Regions from separate parts of the Homo sapiens genome. Here all the other regions are linked to region 3. The links are contacts of gene promoters, found by promoter capture Hi-C in blood cells and fetal thymus (Javierre and others, 2016). All regions are on one chromosome and are shown on one strand. The core of a region is centred on a gene start or on the middle of the fragment in contact, and the rest is flanking DNA. Distances in the headings are between cores, read along the strand shown. Region 1 holds the start of HNF1A-AS1 (HNF1A antisense RNA 1). Region 2 overlaps C12orf43 (chromosome 12 open reading frame 43). Region 3 holds the start of PLA2G1B (phospholipase A2 group IB). Region 4 overlaps LOC105378258 (a long non-coding RNA gene). Region 5 overlaps LOC105370030 (a long non-coding RNA gene).

Region 1 (3,372 bases), core at 358-2,857, 640 kb before region 3:
TCAGAGCTGGGCTTTAAGTCCACCTGAGGCAGGCGGACGGGCTGTGCAGGACAAGTTGGCAGCCCCCGCCTTAAGGAGAGTGGTACCCTCTTTCCTCCAGTGCATTTATGTTTTATTTTTATTTTTGAGACAGAGCCTCACTTTGTCACCCAGGCTGGAGTACAGTGGTGCGATCTCAGCTCACTGTAACCTCTGCCTCCTGGGTTCGAGCAATCCTCCTACCTTAGCCTCCTGAGTAGCTGGGACTACAGGCACACACCACCATGCCTGGCTAATTTTTGTATTTTTGGTAGAGACAGGGTTTCACCATGTTTGCCAGGCTGGTCTCAAACTCCTGGCCTCAAAAGATCCACCCACCTCGGCCTCCCAAACTGTTGGGATTATAGGCGTGAGCCACCGTGCCCGGCCAAGTGCATTTTTTTGTAAACCCCCGTGCAAGTTGCTTTGAGGTTGAGCAGCTTACTGCTGGGGACAGCATTCTCAAGTCCAGGCTAAACAGGGAAGATGCTGTGTGCTGTCCCTTTGTGGCTTTGAGGTTCTCCTGCTTATTCTCTTTGCTGCCTGCAGCTGCCTCTTGGTGACTTTCCCTTTCCAGGGAGCCAGAGGAACCAAGGAGTGTTGGCCCTGACTCCTGCCCCCAGCATGTAAACTCATTAACTGCTGGGTCCTCAGGCAGTTAGGTGGCTGAGCATTTGAGTCTGGGACGGCAGGTGGATTTGGTTGGAGAGGGAATGACAGAGATTGGGGAGGAGCCTCCAGAGTCTAAAGAGATAGGTACACAAGCAGAAAGTTCCAGCCCCCAGCCTGCCTTTCCCCCATGCTCAGGGGACAAAGCTGAATTAACTCGAGGTCAGGAATGGCATTTGCATTTGCATTCTTGAGAGTCACTGCAAATAAGAGCTGTAGTCATGGTGAGTGGTTAAGGCAATGGACTAGAGAACCACTGAGAAAAAAAGCGAACAGTGGCTGGGCGCAGTGGCTCATGCCTGTCATCCCAGCACTTTGGGAGACCGAAGTGGGTGGATCACTTGAGGTCAGGAGTTCGAGACCAGCCTGGCCAACATGGTGAAAACCCGTCTCTACTAAAAATACAAAAATTAGCCAGGCTTGTCAGTGGGCACCTATAATCCCAGCTAGTCGGAAGGCTGAGGCAGGAGAATCACTTGAACCCAGAAGGCAGAGGTTGCAGTGAGCTGAGATCATGACACTGCACTCCAGCCTGGGTGACAGAGAGAAACTCCGTCTCAAAAAAAAAAGAAAAAGAAAAAAAAAAAAAGGAACAGCCGGACATGGTAGCTCATACCTGTAATCCCAGCGCTTTGGGAGACCGAGGCAGGTGGATCACCTGAGGTCAGGAGTTCCAGATCAGCCTGGCCAACATGGTAAAACCCCATCTCTACTAAAAATACAAAAATTAGCTGGATGTGGTGGCGCACACCTGTAGTCCCAGATACTCAGGAGGCTGAGGCAGGAGAATAGCTTGAACCCGGGAGGCGGAGGTTGCAGTGAGCAGAGATCACGCCACTGCACTCCAGCCTGGGCGATAGAGTAACAATCCGTCTCAAAAAAATCTGAAAATTAAAAATTAAAAAGTGAACAGTTGTTTAGTAAGTGCAGTAGGTAGGCCAAGATAACTATTAAGTATGTCCTAACAAGGTAGCTGCTTGAAAAAAATAATGCACATAAATTAAAAAAAAAAAAACTATTTTCACTCATTCTTAACTTCTCGTATGGATGTACTAACGGGAGGCCTGTGCCTGTTGGGCTGTCCACAGCTACTCAAACCTTGAGATTAGATTGGACGCTATCTAATCTCATTTCCTGTTACACAATAACTTCTGCATGGCACTTGCTTTTAATCATGACAACTGCCATACACTCAGCTTTACAAAATCATGTCATTGTGGAAAGGAAGTTCCCTCCATCTAACATTCAAATTTAACTATCCTGAGCTGGTAGTTTGCAAGGTGTCCAACAGATGTCACTGTGTTTCCTTCGCAAATTCTCTAAAATAGTCTGCTGTGTCCCGGGGCATAGTAGATATTCAAGAAATGGTGGCTATGAGTTTTATCACAATTCTCTCCTACTGGGTGAGCAGCTGTTTGCAAGACTAAAATTCGGGCGAGGCACAGGCTTCCCCTTGGTCTTAGCAGCTAGCACAAGACGAGTGTCCCTTCAGCCAGTCTCAGAGCTCTTTGGCAATTCAACTGACCCTTGTCCTTCAGTCCAGACAATGCCCCAGGGCCCACCTGCATTCAAACTCGGACTGTTCTCCTTCCCACCCCTATTATCTTTTCAACTTTATGGACAGTACATGCAATTTTCTCATTCATTTTCTCATTTAACATCTAACAGCTTCATGATATCCCCATTTTACAGATAAGGAAACCAAGGCTTTAAGAGGATAGGGACCCTAATCGGCTAAGGCAGAATTAGGATTTGAACCCAGATCCCCATGACGCCAGAATCTAAGCCTTGACCAAATATGTGTTACTATTACTTTTGTTGTTGTTGTTGTTCTGGGTAACTCCAACCCTCTGCTCGTTGGCCTTGTCACCTCAGTGCTGATTTTGCAGATGAAGAGACTAAGGTTCCGAGGTGCTAGAGCACAGTGGTTAGGAACACACACTCTAGAGCCAGAGTGCCTGGGTTTGAGCCTCGTTCTGCCGTTTACTAGCCGTATGGCCTTGGGCAACTTGCTTAACTTCTCTTTGCCTCAGTTCCTCTTCTCTTGGGTTGTTAGGAGAATGAATGAGGTGATATCCACAGTGTCCAACACCCTGCAAGCGGCCAGGTGTGGTGGATCACACCTGCAATCCCAGCACTTTGGGAGGCCGAGGCAGGTGGATCATTTGAGGTCAGGAGTTCGAGACCAGTCTGGCCAACATGGCGAAACCTCATTTCTACTAAAAATACAAAAATTAGCCGGGCGTGGTGGCAAACAACTGTAATCCGAGCTACTAGGGAGGCTGAGGCAGAAGAATCGCTTGAACCCAGGAGACAGAGGTTGCAGTGAGCCAAGATTGCACCACTGCACTCCAGCCTGGGCGACAGAGTGAGACCCTGCCTCAAAAACTAAAAATAAAAAATGAACAGTGTCCAACACCTTGAAAGCATTCCGCATGACTGAACGATCACTGTTACGTGATTACCAACATGACGACCCCACTTCTCTTGGCCAAACTGAGTTCTCTTCTCTTGTAAAAACTTCTGCATATGAAGTCACCCATTCCATTTGACTCTTTAGCCCTCATCCTGGCATTCAAGGGCATGGACGACTCAACCCCACTCTCTAGCCAGCCTGACCTCTCCATTCCCTTCTCTGGCGTAGAGGCCACTCCCACCACCTGCCCTTACCCCCTGCCCACTTTT
Region 2 (3,723 bases), core at 1-2,500, 680 kb before region 3:
GATCTGCCTGCCTTGGCCTCCCAAAGTGCTAGGATTACAGGCGTGAGCCACCATGCCTGGCCTCATCTTGTTTTACTATGTCTTTAAAACTTCTTCAACACTTACTGGAATAAAGTGGGCTTTAAAGAAATGAAGCACTGCAGTTCGCGTGGCAGAGGCTGGTCAGCATGTTATAACCAGACCATCAGCCCTCTTACTAGGCCAGCACGCTTTCGCTTTTGCATTTACAATCACATACCCCATCCCCTCCACTTGAAAAAGAATTTTGTTTTTGTCGTTATCCAAAAATCTCATCTTAAATCAACCGTCTCGTCTCCCTGTAGCTTCATTACCATCTCAGAAGCAGCAAAGGAGCCAGCAAAAGCTAAGGTACAGAAAGTCGCTTTGGAGGATGATGGTGAGTGGTTATACTTAATAGAAGCTATCATTTATTAAGCACCTAATGTGTGTCTGGAGGTGGGCGAAACAGTTTTGGTATATTCTTTTTTTTTTTTCTTTTTTTGAGATAGGAACTCTCTCTGCCACCTAGGCTGGAGTGCAGTGGAGCAATTATAGCTCAATGCAGCCTCAACCTCCCGGACCCAAGCAGTCCTCCCACCTCAGCTTCCTGAGTAGCTGGGACCACAGACACACACCACCACCCCTGGCTAATTATTTATGTTTTTTAGAGACAGGATCTCGCTATGTTGCCCAGGCTGGTCTTGAACTCCTGGCCTCAAGCCATCTGCCCACCTTAGCCTTCCAAAGTTCTGGGACTACAGGCGTGCACCACCACACCTGGCTAATTTTTGTATTTTTTTTTAGAGACAGGGTTCTGTCATGTTGCCCAGGCTGGTCTTAAACTCCTGGCCTCAAGCTATCCTCCCGCCTCAGACTACCAAAGTACTGGGGTTACAGGCATGGGCCACCTCACCATTCTTTCATCTGCTCAGCCCCTGTGGTGAGGCAGGTATTATGATTGAACCCCATGTACAGACAAGGAGACTGAGGCCCTGAGAAACGAAGTCATTTGCCTGAGGCGGCCTCGTCTGTGTCACCCTGAGCAGGAGCACTTTACTGCTGCCCTCCACAGCCTCGCCCATCTGCGTCTGTCCTGTACCAACACATTTGCCACTTTGAAGGCTGCCTTAGGTCAGGAGCTCAAGTGCTGACTTCCAGAAGCCTCTGAGGGCTTGCTGAGCTGATGTGGCTGCTGGCTCCTGCTCCAGCGCGCCCTCCACTGGCTCCATCAGGCATCAGCATGACCCTTGGCAGATGCAGAATCACTTTGTAGTTAGACGACTGATTCCTGGGTCTTTGCCTCTGGACCAGGAGCTCCTGAGGGCAGAGGCGGGGCAGCTTCAGCACCTGGCACCTGGGAGGAGGGGCTGGCATCTGGGGGTGCTGACTCTGCTCCTTTGTTTTTTTTGTTTGTTTGCTTGGTTGGGTTTTTTTGTTATTGTTTCTTTTTTAAATTTTTTTATTTTGTGTCTTCTTAAAATTTTTTTTTTGTTTCTCTTTATCTTTTCTTTCTTTCGTTTTCCTTTTTAAAATTTTTTTCTTTTTTGTTTCTTTATTTTTTATTTTTTTATGTTTCTTTTTGTTTTGTTTTGTTTTTGTTTGACTCTGCCCCATTGAATCTTAGGTTTCCGCCTTTTCTTCACATCTGTCCCTGGAGGCCGTGAGAAGGAAGAGTCTCCCCAACCCCGCCGAAAGCGACAGCCCTCCAGCTCCAGGTGAGAACTCACACCTCTCCTCACGTCCCCTCCTTTTTTCTCCTCTTCTGTCTTGGTGGGTTCCCTGGAATAGCCAAGCAGACTCCAGTCAGGACCAGGCCAAGGCAGTGGCCCTGTCAGGCAGCTGGAGAAATCATGAGCTCAGCGGGAGGGAAAGCCCTCTTGGCGGCAGCTTTGGATGTTTACTGCTTTTGAGCACCTGTCTTGGGCCAGACACCTCACTTGATCATAGTTGCCTCCTGGGACATCCCTGGGAGGCCTGGACTCTGTTAAGATCCCCGTTTTAGAGATGATACAGTCAGAGAGGTTAAGTCACTTAAGGAGGTCACAAGGCTGCTACGCCCAGAAGCCAGTATTGGAAGCCAGGTTGGCCTCACTCCCAAGCCTGAACTCACTACCTGCCTCTCTCTGCGGCCACCTTCTGGTGACCTGGACCAAGGGAGGACAGCGAGAGGCAGCTCTGGGGCTGTGTCCTGACTCCAGCTAACCCAGGGTACCCTCTCGTTGCAGCAGTGAGGACAGTGACGAGGAGTGGCGGCGGTGCCGGGAGGCAGCTGTGTCGGCGTCCGACATCCTACAGGAGTCAGCCATCCACAGCCCTGGAACAGTGGAGAAGGAGGCAAAGAAGAAAAGGAAGTTGAAAAAGAAAGCCAAGAAGGTGGCCAGTGTCGACTCGGCTGTCGCTGCCACCACCCCCACCAGCATGGCCACAGTCCAGAAGCAGAAGTCAGGTGAGCTCAACGGGGACCAGGTGTCGCTTGGGACCAAAAAGAAGAAAAAGGCAAAGAAGGCCAGCGAGACCTCTCCATTCCCACCAGCAAAGAGTGCTACAGCTATACCTGCAAACTGAACCCAGCCATGGGCACAGGGCTCAGCCAGCTCCAAGGACAAGGTGTCCCCCCCACCCTGGGGACAAGGCATTTCCAAGCCCCACCTCCCTCTCCAAGTTCAAGGACTGGGCTGGCAAACCCAGACTGCCCATGAGACCCTGATGGTGATGAAGGCTTGCTCGAGAGTTGGGCCAAAAAAGTGGCTGTAGGGTGAGAAGACCAATCAAGGCCTGCCCCTCTGTGCTCCCACGGAGGGCTGGCGGGGGCGCTGTGGTTCCAGAACATTTCATGACCTCAGGAAAAAAGGAACCTTCCAGTTATTTGAGACTAGTGGCCAAGTGGTGAAACCTCCATCTCCCTAGAACTGTCTGAGGTGGGCAGGGGAAGGGAGACCTTCCCCACCACCTCCTTAGCCTGGTGTGAGAAACAGTTTTTAGAAAATGAGAGAAGGGATCCCCAAGAGGCCAAGGCCCAGAGAAACTTTTGTTCTTCTCTCCTTAGCCCACATAGACTTCACAGAATCGTCTGAGAAAGGAGAGCTTTTTCACCCCTGGCTTTCTAGAATTTTCTTTGTCTGCATTTGTGAATATACCACACATGATGGTGTCTCTGAGCCGACCAGATTATGGAAACTCAATTGTCAGAGGACCCAAAACAAAACTTAGAGTGATTTGGATATTGCCTCTCTGTCAATGCTGAACCTTAAGACATTTTAAGTAAACATCCTCCTCCTCTCTACACCCCCAGGATTTGTGCGTTCACCCCACCCAAGACTTCAGGAAGTGTCATAGCACTCGTGGACTAGGTTTCATGGGACAAAGGCATTCTGCAAGAAGTAGAAGCTTGTGGCCGGGTGCAGTGGCTCATGCCTGTAATCCAAGCATTTTGAGAGGCCAAGGAGGTGGATCAATTGAGGCCAGGAGTTTGAGACCAGCCTGGCCAACATGGCGAGACCCCATCTCTACTAAAAATACAAAAATTAGCTGAGCATGTTGACACACGCCCGTAATCCCAGCTACTCAGGAGGCTGAGGTGGGAGAATCGCTTGAACCCAGGAGGTGCAGGTTGCAGTGAGCCGAGATTGCGCCACTGCACTCTAGCCTAAGCAATGGAGCAAGACCCTATCTCAAAAAAAAAAAAAGAAAAAGAAAAAGAAAAGAAGTAGAAGCTCATGGCCA
Region 3 (3,789 bases), core at 647-3,146:
CTAAAAATACAAAAATTATCCAGGCATGCTGGCAGGCGCCTGTAATTCCCAGCTACACGAGAGGCTGAGGCAGGAGAATCGCTTGAACCTGGGAGGCGGAGGTTGCAGTAAGCCGAGATCGTGCCATTGCACTCCAGCCTGGGCGACAAGAGCGAAACTCTGTCTCAAAAAAAAAAGAGAGAGAGAGAGAGAAGCAGATTAGCAGTTACCAGGGGCTGAGGGAGTGTGACTGCTAATGGGTACAGGGTTTCCTTCTGGAGTGATAAAAATGTTCTGGAACCCCATAGAGGTGATGGTTGCACAACACTGTGAAGGTACTAAATGCCCCCGAATTGTTTACTTAAACGTGGTTAATGTTATGTGAATTTCAGCTAAACAATGTTATGTAGATATTTGGCCGGGCGCGGTGGCTCACGCCTGTAATCCCAGCATTTTGGGAGGCCGAGGCAGGTGGATCACGAGGTCAGGAGATCGAGACCATCCTGGCTAATGCGGTGAAACCCCATCTCTACTAAAAATACAAAAAAAAAAATTAACCGGGCGTGGTGGTGGGTGCCTGTAGTCCCAGCTACTTGGGAGGCTGAGGCAGGAGAATGGCATGAACCTGGGAGGCAGAGCTTGCAGTGAGCCAAGATCGCGCCATTGCACTCCAGCCTAGGCAACAGAGCAAGACTCCGTCTCAAAAAATATATATAAATAAATAGATATGTGATGTGACAGGTTTTTTTTTGAGATGGAGTTTTGCTCTTGTTCCCTAGGCTGGAGTGCAATGGCGTGATCTCAGCTCACCGCAACCTCCGCCTCCAGGGTTCAAGCCATTCTCCTGCCTCGGCCTCCGGAGTAGCTGGGATTACAGGCATAAGCCACCATGCCTGGCTAATTTTGTGTTTTTAGTAGAGACAGGGTTATTCCATGTTGGTCAGGCTGGTCTCGAACTCTCCACCTCAGGTGATCTGCCAGCCTCAGCCTCCCAAAGTGCTGGGATTACAGGCATGAGCCACCGTGCCTGGCCTCTGATATGACAGTTCTAATGCCCTTTAGTATTCTATAATTCAGACTCAGGCCTTTGGAATCCAAAGCCCAGGTTTTTCTCACAAACCCACACTGCAGAGCGGAGTGGTGGAAAAAAATAAAACCTCTGCCTTGGAATCAGACAGATCTAAACTGGAGCCCTATTTTGTCATTTGCCAACTGTGTGACCTTGGGCAAGTTACCGCAACTCTCTGAACCTGTCTCTTTATCTGCAAGGTGCACGACTGATGGGACTATTCAACCAGACCCAGTGCACAGATTCAGGCACTTGATAAGACATTGAGGCTGCAGGCAGCGATCTTTTTTCTTTCTTTCTTTTTTTTTTTTTTTTTTTGAAATAGGGTCTCACTCTGCTGCAGAGGCTCAATCACTGTTCATTGCAGCCTTGACCTCCCTGGCTCAAGAGATCCTCCCATCTCAGCCTCCTGAGTTGCTGGGATCACAGGTGCAATCCACCACCACACCTGGTTAACATTTTTTTTTTTAGAGATGAGGTCTCTCTATGTTGCCCAGGCTGCACTTCCTTCTTGTCTCCCTTATCCCAGCGTCCGACTGAACTGACGGCTTTGCTTTCCCCAACCAGCCCGTGAAGCTGGGCTGAGTACAAAGTGGTGGGTATGAGGGTCAAGATTGTAAGATCTGAAAACTCCAGAAACCATCCCTTTGGTTAACAGTTGCTAAGGACAAATGCATAACATATTTTCCAGTGATCCCATGCTGGCAAATCGTCAGGGTCATTCCTGCAACAGACAGATTCAAGGCCAGCCCCAAACTCAGCCAAGAGCAAAGCAAACACTCCAGCCTTATCTGGGCAGGGTTGTGTGGAGACTGACTATAAGACTATACCTGAGACTGGTCATCTCAGTTCTTTTCTCACCTTGACTGCAAGATGAAACTCCTTGTGCTAGCTGTGCTGCTCACAGGTAGGCAAGTCTCCCCGGCTCCACCCGCCTTTCTCTCCCAAGTGAGCTAAGATCTCACTCCTCTGGAATGGGGGCCACAGGCCACAGCAAACAGGGATGGCCAGCCCCGCAGTCTCAATTCGAGGTTCCCAGTGGGGCTTAAGGGCTCCTCTATTGGGGTTCCCTCAAGGCTGGCACTTTTTCAACCTGCAAGTCTGAACTCAGATTGCCTGAGCTAAGAAAGCTTGCCTTTATTTTCTTTTTTCCAGACAGGGTCTTGCTCTATCACCCAGGCTGGAGTTCAGTGGCATGATCATAGCTCACCACAGCTTCCAACTCGTGGGCTCAAGTGATCCTCCCACCTTACTCAACTAAGTAGTTAGGCCAATCTCCCATTTATTTTATTTTATTTTAATTTTTATTTTTATTTTACTTTATTTTATTTTTGAGACGGGGCTCACTCTGTCGCCCAGGCTGGAGTGCGGTGGCGTGATCTCAGATCACTACAACCTCCATCTCCTGGGTTCAAATAATTCTCTTGCCTCAGCCTCTCAAGTAGCTGGGACTTGTAGCTCTCAAGTAGCTGGCACACACCACCATGCCCAGCTAATTTTTTGTGTGTTTTTTTTGGTAGAGACAGGTTTTCACCATGTTGGCCAGGCTGGGTGACCTCCCTTTTAGATTCTCCTCATCCTGCTCTATTCTTCCCCTTTCTAATGCAGTATCCAGTTTCCTTACTTATCACATTTATTATTATTCTTATTATTATTGAGACAGAGTCTTGCTTTGTCGCCAAGGCTGGAGTACAGTGGTGCGATCTCGGCTCACTGCAAGCTCCACCTGCTGGGTTCACGCCATTCTCCCGCCTCAGCCTCCCCAGTAGCTGGGACTAAAGGCGCCTGCCACCACGCCCCGCTAATTTTTTTGTATTTTTAATAAAGACGGGGTTTCATCGTGTTAGCCAGGATGGTCTCGATCTCATGACCTTGTGATCCGCCTGCCTCGGCCTCCCAAAGTGCTGGGATTACAGGCATGAGCCACCGTGCCCGGCCTTATCACATTTATTATTTATTGTTTTTCTCTCCCACTAGGTTGTAAGCTCCATGAGGTTAGAGATTATTATTATTATTATTATTATTATTATTATTATTATTATTATTATATCTGTTCACTGCTGTATCTCTAGCTCCTAGGACAGAGCCTGGCACATAGTAAGTGCTCAATAAATATTCACTGGATAAACAGTGCAGATAGTTTAAAACTATCTGACCTAGGGAGGCTGAGGCAGGAGAATGGCGTGAACCCGGGAAGCAGAGTTTGCAGTGAGCTGAAATCGTGTCACTGCACTCCAACCTGGGCAACAGAGCAAGACTCCATCTCAAAAAAAAAAAAAAAACTATCAGGCCTAGCTGGGTGGCACATGCCTGTAATCCTAGCTGAGGCGGTAGGGTCCCAGAAGAAGAAGAAGAAGAAAAAGAAGAAGATATATATATATATACACACACACAAAGATATAAACTTTATATATATAAAGTTTTCATTAAAAAAAAAAAAAAACCTCTACCCACTTTCACTTTACCAGGTTCCTGGGTCCAACGGTCTTCAGAGGAGGCAGCTGGCAGGGGTCAGGGAGGCAGCGTGGGACCCGAGGGAGCAGGAAGGCAGTGTGTCCCCGGGGTGCTGGCAGACCGATTTGAACTCTGGCTATGTCTTCTTGCAGTGGCCGCCGCCGACAGCGGCATCAGCCCTCGGGCCGTGTGGCAGTTCCGCAAAATGATCAAGTGCGTGATCCCGGGGAGTGACCCCTTCTTGGAATACAACAACTACGGCTGCTACTGTGGCTTGGGGGGCTCAG
Region 4 (3,584 bases), core at 17-2,516, 740 kb before region 3:
CTGTACCCCTCAAACTGCCCAATTAGGTATACTCCTGGGGAAAATATGGCAAAGTTTGTTGTAATGCAGTTTTTTTACCTAATTAAGTAGCTACTAAAATAATTAATTTCAAAAATTTGGAGCAAACCTAGAAAGATGCAGATGTCTTTGTGGCTTTTCACGCAATCAAGTTTACCTATCTTTGCTTTTAATATGTATTTCCTCTTGATGAAATGTTTATTTAGTTTAGTAAACTTGGGATATGTCATTTATATCCATAAATCAACTTTTTAAAAAAGAGATAATAAGAATGTGTATTGTCTATGTGTTCGTGTGTAAAACAAGATCCACTTTTATTTTTTATTATTTATTTTATGATTTGAGTTTATTTTATAAATGAGTTTATGCAGAATCATAGAGGTATCAACTACAGTCAATCACCCAACCTACTTACCTTTCCAAAGGTAAATATACTCAAGTACAATCATTTTTTTCTCATCCAAAGAGTAGCCCATATTGAATAAAGATAGGGACATGAAATGAATCGGTAGACACTATTAACCAAGAATATACAGATTTATTCACACCAAGAAACAAGTAAGTCATATGGATATATATATAAAGATAAATTTAAAAATAATAAGGTGATAATTGTACAAGTTTGCATATAGAGCTGCAGCTCTGAAAAACTGTTTATATTGTTTTGATATATTGTGTGACTTGTTCCCCTAACCCATCACCCGGAGTTGATGCTAAGATACTGTTGGTTCCATGACTCGGAAGCAATCTAAGGTTAGAGGCACTTACATTTGCTAGGAATAAATAAGGCAAGATGATATTTTTCACCACTTTTAGCACAGCAGACTTGTCAGTAGATAAGCGGCTCCACCCAGGACACTGGTATTCATCTCATTCGCACAGCTCATCTGTTGACCATGACTCAAGCAACTGGACCACTCTGGAGGACCATAGTGCCCTTTAAAAAATTTTTTTTTGTATTTTTAGTAGTGACAGGGTTTCCCCATATTAACCAGGCTGGTCTCGAACTCTTGACCTCAGGTGATCCACCTGCCTTGGCATCCCAAAGTGCTGGGATTACAGGCATAAGCCACCGTGCCAGGCCTCCTAATGTGCCCTTTTATGTGGAGTGGCCATTGAGTGTGCACTCAGCCAGACACAGACAGCATTTTTGAAAGCTTTATCTGAGTATTTCAAAATTGAGTATGAATTTGGATAAAGTGGTTGGTTGTAGACCAAGCAGGAAGATGTCATAGAAAGAACAATGGCTTGGGAGTTCGGAATCCCGGGCTTGCATGAATCTTTGAGCTTGTTAAGTCGTGCAATCTAAAGCAAGGCATTTCACTGATAATTAAGCTTCATGAGCATTTGCACTGATAACATTATACACATTGAACAATTCAGAAGTCACCACATACGTATGGCGTGGCTTACTCTCACCTTTCACCGGTTGGAGAAAAAGAGACAGAGATGAATGTGATCAAGTTTATGAGCTCCTAAGTAAAAGAGCCAAGATGGGAACCCAAGCATGTGGCTCCAGCGCCGAGGCTCTGAGCAACGGATGCACCATCATCACTCAGCTGTGGGACCACCAGTCACTGTGCAAAAGAGTTCCATCATCTGTATGTATTGACACGTCTGGAATTATCTGAGCCTATAGAGTTCCTACACACTATCCACAATATATGCTGGTGTCAGTGGGCACATAGCCCAGCACAGGTATTAGTGCATAAATACCACAGGTTTATCATAGTCATTATGTGAAACCCACTTAGAAAGCCCAAATGCTTTCGGACAGCTCGTAGATTTTGAGAGCTCGGGGACACCACTTGGGACAGCCAGTAAAATTCTTTCAGTGCTTGGCCGCTCCTCAGCACCTGTCCCAAACTGATAAATAACGAGAAGACTCTTTTTTCCAAACGGAGTTTGGCTCTTGTTGCCCAGGCTGGAGTGCAATGGCACCACTTCGGCTCACTGCAACCTCCATCTCCCGGGTTCAAGCCATTCTCCTGCCTCAGCCTCCTAAGTAGCTCAGATTACAGGTGCATGCCACCACGCCCAGCTAATTTTTTGTATATTTAGTAGAGAAGGGGTTTCACTGTGTCGGCCAGGCTGGTCTCAAACTCCTGACCTCAGGTGATCCACCTACCTCGGCCTCCCAAAGTGCTGGGATTATAGGCGTCAGCCACCGCGCCCAACCAGTACCTATTTTCTTTGAAACATAACAACTCTCTCATCTTCATCCTAAAATGTTCAAAGCATATTAAAGGGCAAAAACCACAGTATGAAGAGACAGAGCATGCATCAGAGCCAGACTGCAATATACAGAGATTTGATGATTATCAGACTGATAACTATGATTAATATGCTAAAGGCTCTAATGGAAAAAGTGGATGAGATTCAAGAACCAATGGGATGTAAGTAGAGAAGTGAAAACTCTAAGAATCAAAAGGGAATGCTAGAAATAAAAAATGCCGTAACAGAAACGGAGAAGGCCTTTGATGGACCCGTCAGTGGACTGCACGTGGTTGATGAAGAAATCCGTGAACCTGAGAAAATGTCAATAGAACTTCCCAAACTGAAAAGCAAGAGAAAAAAAGACTGAGGAAAACAGAAAAAAATATCAAAAAATGGCGGGACAATTACAAAAGGTATAACATCTTCGTAAAGGGAATTCTAAAAGGAGAAAAATGAAAGAAGCAGAAGAAATATTTTAACTAATAATGGCTGATAACTCACCAAAATTATTGACAGACACCAAGCCATAGATCCAGGAATCTCAGAACACCAAACAGGATAAATACAAAGAAGTCAATATCTCATCATATCATATTCAAATTTTGTAAAATCAAAGATAAAAACTTTGAAAGAAGCCGGGCACAGTGGCTCAGGCCTGTAATCTCAGCGCTTTGGGAGGCCAAGGTGGGCTGATCACTTGAAGTCAGGAGTTCGAGACCAGCCTGGCCAACATGGTGAAACAGTCTCTACTAAAAATACAAAAATTAGCTGGGCGAGGTGATGGGTGCCTGTAGTCCCAGCTACTCAGGAGGCTGAAGCAGGAGAATTGCTTAAACCCAGGAGACAGAGCTTGCAGTGAGCCAAGATCACGCCACTGCACTCCAGCCTGGGCAACAGAGCAAGACTCCATCTCGAAAAAAAAAAGAAAAAGAAAAAAAAAAAACTTTGAAAGAAGCCAAAGGAAAATATACATACTACTCATAGAGGCACTAGTATAAGAATTACACTGGGCAGGGTGCAGTGGTTCACACTTATAATCCCAGCACTTTGGAGGCCAAGGCAGTAGGACTGCTTGAGCTCAGGAGTTTGAGACCAGCCTGGGCAACATAGAGAAACCCCATCTCTACAAAAAATATGAAATATTAGCAAGGCTTGCCAGTGTTTGCCTGTGGTTCCAGCTACTCGGGAGGCTGAGGCAGAAGGCTCACTTGAGCCTGGGAGGTTGAGGCTACAGTAAGTCAAGATTAAGGCACTGTGCTCCAGCTTGGGCACCAGAGTGAAACCCTGTCTCAGGGGAAAAAAAAAAAAAAAGAATTACGTTGAACTTCTTGTCAGGAACCACATAAGAA
Region 5 (3,836 bases), core at 1-2,500, 790 kb before region 3:
TGTACAGATATTCCACATTTTGTTTGTCTGTTAATCCGTAGATGAACATTTAGTTTCTTTCCACTTTTTGGCTACTGTGGATAATGCTGGTATAAACATGGTTCTACAAATTCCTATTCATGTTCCTGCCTTCAATTCTTTGGGGGGATATAGCCAGTAGTAGAATTGCTGGGTCATGTGGTAATTCTGTATTTAAGTTTTTGAGGAAACACGTTTTGTTTTTTCTTTTTTATTCTTTTAACACAAAGAACATTTCTTCTGTATTTTTATGTAATCTGCCAGGATAGCCACGCGTGCCTGATAGCATCTCCTTTTAAACCCAAAAGCTGAATACATCACCCTTGGAAGGGGAAATATCTTCCTTGTATCAGTGAGTCACCGCCTCTCTCGCTAAAGCAGAAATAAAAATTATTAATTTAATTCCAGCTGGGCACATTGGCTCATGCCTGTAATCCCAGCATTTTGGGAGGCCAAGGCAGACAGATCATCTGAGGTCAGGGGTTCGAGACCACCTTGGCCAACATGGTGAAATCCCATCTCTACTAAAAATATAAAAATTAACTGGGCATGGTGTTAGGCATCTGTAGTTCCAGCTACTCAGGAGGCTGAGGCAAGGGGATCACTTGAACCTTGGAGGTGGAGGTTGCAGTGAGCCGAGATCACACCGCTGCATTCCAGCCTAGGCAATGAGTGAGACTCCGTCTTAAAAAAATAAAAATAAAAATAAAAATAAAAATGTAATTCCAACAGTGCATTTTGCTACAGAGGATAGAGAGGGGAAGCAGAATAAAGTTATGCTGAATAGTTGGACATTTAGGACATGAGACAAAAAACAGAAGCAGAGAGACTGAGAGAAGGAAGAGAGGAGCTGAGTTATGGGGCTGTGGCGTGAAGACCACCAGCCCCAAGACTCCCTCGAGTGATCCTCAATAAAGAGTTCCTCCCTAGTCCTGGACTCCAGGAGGCCTGACTCATTTACAACATGTCTTCTTGTTTTCTACGAGATCTCGTCTTCCATATTTCTCTCTGAGCATCCGCATAAGAAGCCCTAAGTGTGTAACTGTTCAAACGAACGCAGCTAAAACACAGTCTCATTCCCTTGGTTCCCACCAAACTGACAGCACCTTCATGTCAATGACATTGACTCACTTGGGCCCATTTTGTTGAGCCAGTGACATGGCACTCATCAGAGTAGTCGTCTCAATCCAGCTAAAGAGCTCCAAGCCAAATGGAGAAGCCAGTGGAATGGGTAGGAACTGGGATTGTCACTATGCTGAGGAATGGAGATGGTGATATGGGATAAAGCAGGTACAGCAAGCAGGACGTGAGGGCCAGAGCTGAGGGGTCTGCAGGTCAGGAGGCTGAGCTCAGGATCGCTGGAGGCCCCAGGAAGGTGTAGGGAGGGCACCTTGGTTCTGCCCACCTGCAGGAAGAGAAGAGGGGATGGCGATAGAGTCCATGATTGAAGATCTCTGTACTTCTCCCTGCCCATGGCATAGCTCTTACCAAAACTCCCTCTTTTCACTGGCCTTTTTATCCAGTCAAACCAAATTTCCCTTGTCTCTCTCTCTCTCTCTCTCTTTCTCTTGCTTTTTTTCATACCCACCCCCATTTCTCTTATGCCTAGAACAGTCGCCCACTTAGCATCTGCCTGCCCAGTACTTTGCCTTCCTTTACAACTCCACCTACCACTTAATTTCTCTAAGTGGCTAATTAACTGAAAGTTGAATAATTATACCTCTTTCCCCAAAACACATCTCTGAAATCCCACATGCCCCTGGGGTTGCGATCCATGAAGAAAGGTCTCTGACTACCTAATTTTCATTAAGGGAATTCAATGAGATGACTAATTACAAGCACCATGCCTGGTATCTAATACTGTTCAGTGAACTGCAGCTATTAATTAATAATGATATGTTATTAATAATAATAAAATAATAATATGATATAAGCTCTTAGAAGACAAGGACAGTGGCTGCTCTATGCCAAGTTTCAATAATCCAATATTCAATTTTTTTTTTTTTTGAGACAGAATCTCGCTCTGTCGCTCAGGCTGGAGTGCAATGGCACGATTTCGGCTCACTGCAACCTCCATCTCCTGGGTTCAAGCAATTCTCTGCCTCAGCCTCCCGAGTAGCTGGGATTACAGGTGCCTGCCACCATGCCCAGCTAATTTTTGTATTTTTAGTAGAGACAGGGTTTCACCATCTTGTTCAGGCTGGTCTTGAACTCCTGACCTCGTGATCCACCCACCTCAGCCTCCCAAAGTGCTAGGTTTCTAGGCGTGAACCACCATGTCTGACCTCAGATATTTAATTGTAGCAGAGATTGATAGATTTTTCTGCCATGCCCATCTTCCCCCTCTAGCTCAATTTGAGATCACAGACCTTCATATCCATAGCTGTGGCTTATTGGACCAGGGTGAACATCTGCCCAGGAGAGCAAGACTATTGGCTGGTCAGTGGCCAATTGGGACTGCTCTATTGAGAATATGAGCCATGTGTAGCGGCTCATGCCTGTAATCCCAGCAATTTGGGAGGCCAAGGCAGGAGGATCACTTGAGGCCAAGAGTTCAAGACCAGCCTGGGCAACATAGCGAGACCCTGTCTCTACAAAAAAAAATTTTTTTTAATTAGGCATGGTGGTGTGTGCTTGTAGCCTAGCTACTTGGGAGCCTGAGGTGGGAGGATTGCTTTAGCCAAGAGTTTATTTGTAGAGATGAGGTTTCACTATGTTGCCCAGGCTGGTCTCAAACTCCTGGGCTCAAGCAATCCTCCCACCTCGGCCTCCCAGAGTGGTAAGATTACAAGCGTGAGTCACCAGACCCAACCCCAGCTCTGCCATCTCTATGGTGTTACCTTCATCAGCATGATCCAAAATGGTTCCCACCAGAACTGAATTCTAAAAAGGCTGGAAGCACTTTAGGAGGCTGAGGCAGGTGGATCACCTGAGGTCAGGAGTTCGAGACCAGCCTGGCCAACATGGTGAAACCTCATCTTTACTAAAAATACAAAAAATTAGCTGGGCGTGGTGGCACGTGCCTATAATCCCAGCTATTTGGGAAGCTGAAGCAGGAGAATTGCTTGAACCCAGGAGGTGGAGGTTGCAATGAGCGGAGATTGCACTACTACACTCCAGCCTGGGTGACAGAGCAAGACTCCATTTTTCAAAATCAATAAATCAATAAAAAATTAAAAGCCTGGAAGAAAGAGGAAAGGAGAAAGAGAAGGCATGTTCCTCCCTTGAAGGATGGGATCTGTCACTGCCACTTGCAGGTCATTGGCCAGAGCGTAGTCACATGGTCACACCTACCTGCAGTAGAAGGTAGGAAATGCCATCCTCATTCTGCTGACCATGTTCCCTACCGAAAATCAGGGAGCCAGACATTGAAGACAACCAAGAATTCCTGCCACCAGTACCCATGAAACAGTCCTCTGAGCTGGGGCTGAATGAGTCCTACACATGGAAGGAAATCTTTGGGTTTCCAGGGGATCTGGGCAGCTCTGAGGCATATAACATAGCCCAGCCAGGAAAAAGCTCCCAAAAGAGAATTTATTTGTCCAGGAATGTACAGGCAAAAAATCACCATTCTGTGTTTTTCCATGGGGTAGAGGCCTGACCAACCTCATGTGGTTTGTTCCGTCCAGCTTGGCACTGACAGAGGCTGGTGGGGCCTGGGGGAGGGTCTGAAAATCCAGGGTCTCAGGTATGAACTACTGCTCTGATCAACTGCTAGGCTGTGTCCTGTGGGAATGTGCTGGGTTTCTACATGACCCAGAGGTCACTGATTTCACAAGATCTGCAAACAATCCAATATTCAAATATTTAACTATAGC

What was found. Contacts are between HindIII fragments. The CHiCAGO score rates a contact against its expected background, and 5 or more counts as called.
Region 1: a contact is called between the fragment with the promoter of HNF1A-AS1 here and the fragment with the promoter of PLA2G1B in region 3, in 3 of 17 cell types (naive B cells, total B cells and erythroblasts). The highest score is 6.3, in naive B cells.
Region 2: a fragment that was not itself captured here is called in contact with the fragment with the promoter of PLA2G1B in region 3 in 1 of 17 cell types (naive B cells); the score reaches 5.0 in naive B cells.
Region 4: a fragment that was not itself captured here is called in contact with the fragment with the promoter of PLA2G1B in region 3 in 1 of 17 cell types (naive B cells); the score reaches 6.1 in naive B cells.
Region 5: a contact is called between a fragment that was not itself captured here and the fragment with the promoter of PLA2G1B in region 3, in 1 of 17 cell types (naive B cells). The highest score is 5.8, in naive B cells.

The regions. Positions count from the first base shown.
Region 1 is chr12:120,970,527-120,973,898 of GRCh38, reverse strand. It overlaps HNF1A-AS1 (HNF1A antisense RNA 1), which reads left to right and starts at 1,607. Exons shown (of 1, transcript NR_024345.1): 1 at 1,607-3,372. RefSeq lists an enhancer at 487-1,014. The HindIII fragment of the contact is 11,110 bases long and covers 1-3,372 here.
Region 2 is chr12:121,002,995-121,006,717 of GRCh38, reverse strand. It overlaps C12orf43 (chromosome 12 open reading frame 43), which reads left to right. Exons shown (of 6, transcript NM_022895.3): 4 at 324-397; 5 at 1,625-1,715; 6 at 2,229-3,723. The coding sequence ends at 2,565. Among named protein-coding and RNA genes, the nearest start is that of C12orf43, 12 kb to the left of the region's middle. The HindIII fragment of the contact is 4,279 bases long and covers 1-3,389 here.
Region 3 is chr12:120,325,886-120,329,674 of GRCh38, reverse strand. It overlaps PLA2G1B (phospholipase A2 group IB), which reads left to right and starts at 1,896. Exons shown (of 4, transcript NM_000928.3): 1 at 1,896-1,955; 2 at 3,655-3,789. The coding sequence starts at 1,922. The HindIII fragment of the contact is 6,320 bases long and covers 1-2,180 here.
Region 4 is chr12:121,065,559-121,069,142 of GRCh38, reverse strand. The region is part of intron 3 of LOC105378258 (a long non-coding RNA gene); the gene reads left to right. Among named protein-coding and RNA genes, the nearest start is that of OASL, 28 kb to the right of the region's middle. The HindIII fragment of the contact is 178 bases long and covers 1,178-1,355 here.
Region 5 is chr12:121,117,036-121,120,871 of GRCh38, reverse strand. It overlaps LOC105370030 (a long non-coding RNA gene), which reads right to left. Exons shown (of 3, transcript XR_007063494.1): 3 at 1,166-1,423. Among named protein-coding and RNA genes, the nearest start is that of P2RX7, 14 kb to the left of the region's middle. The HindIII fragment of the contact is 9,656 bases long and covers 1-3,836 here.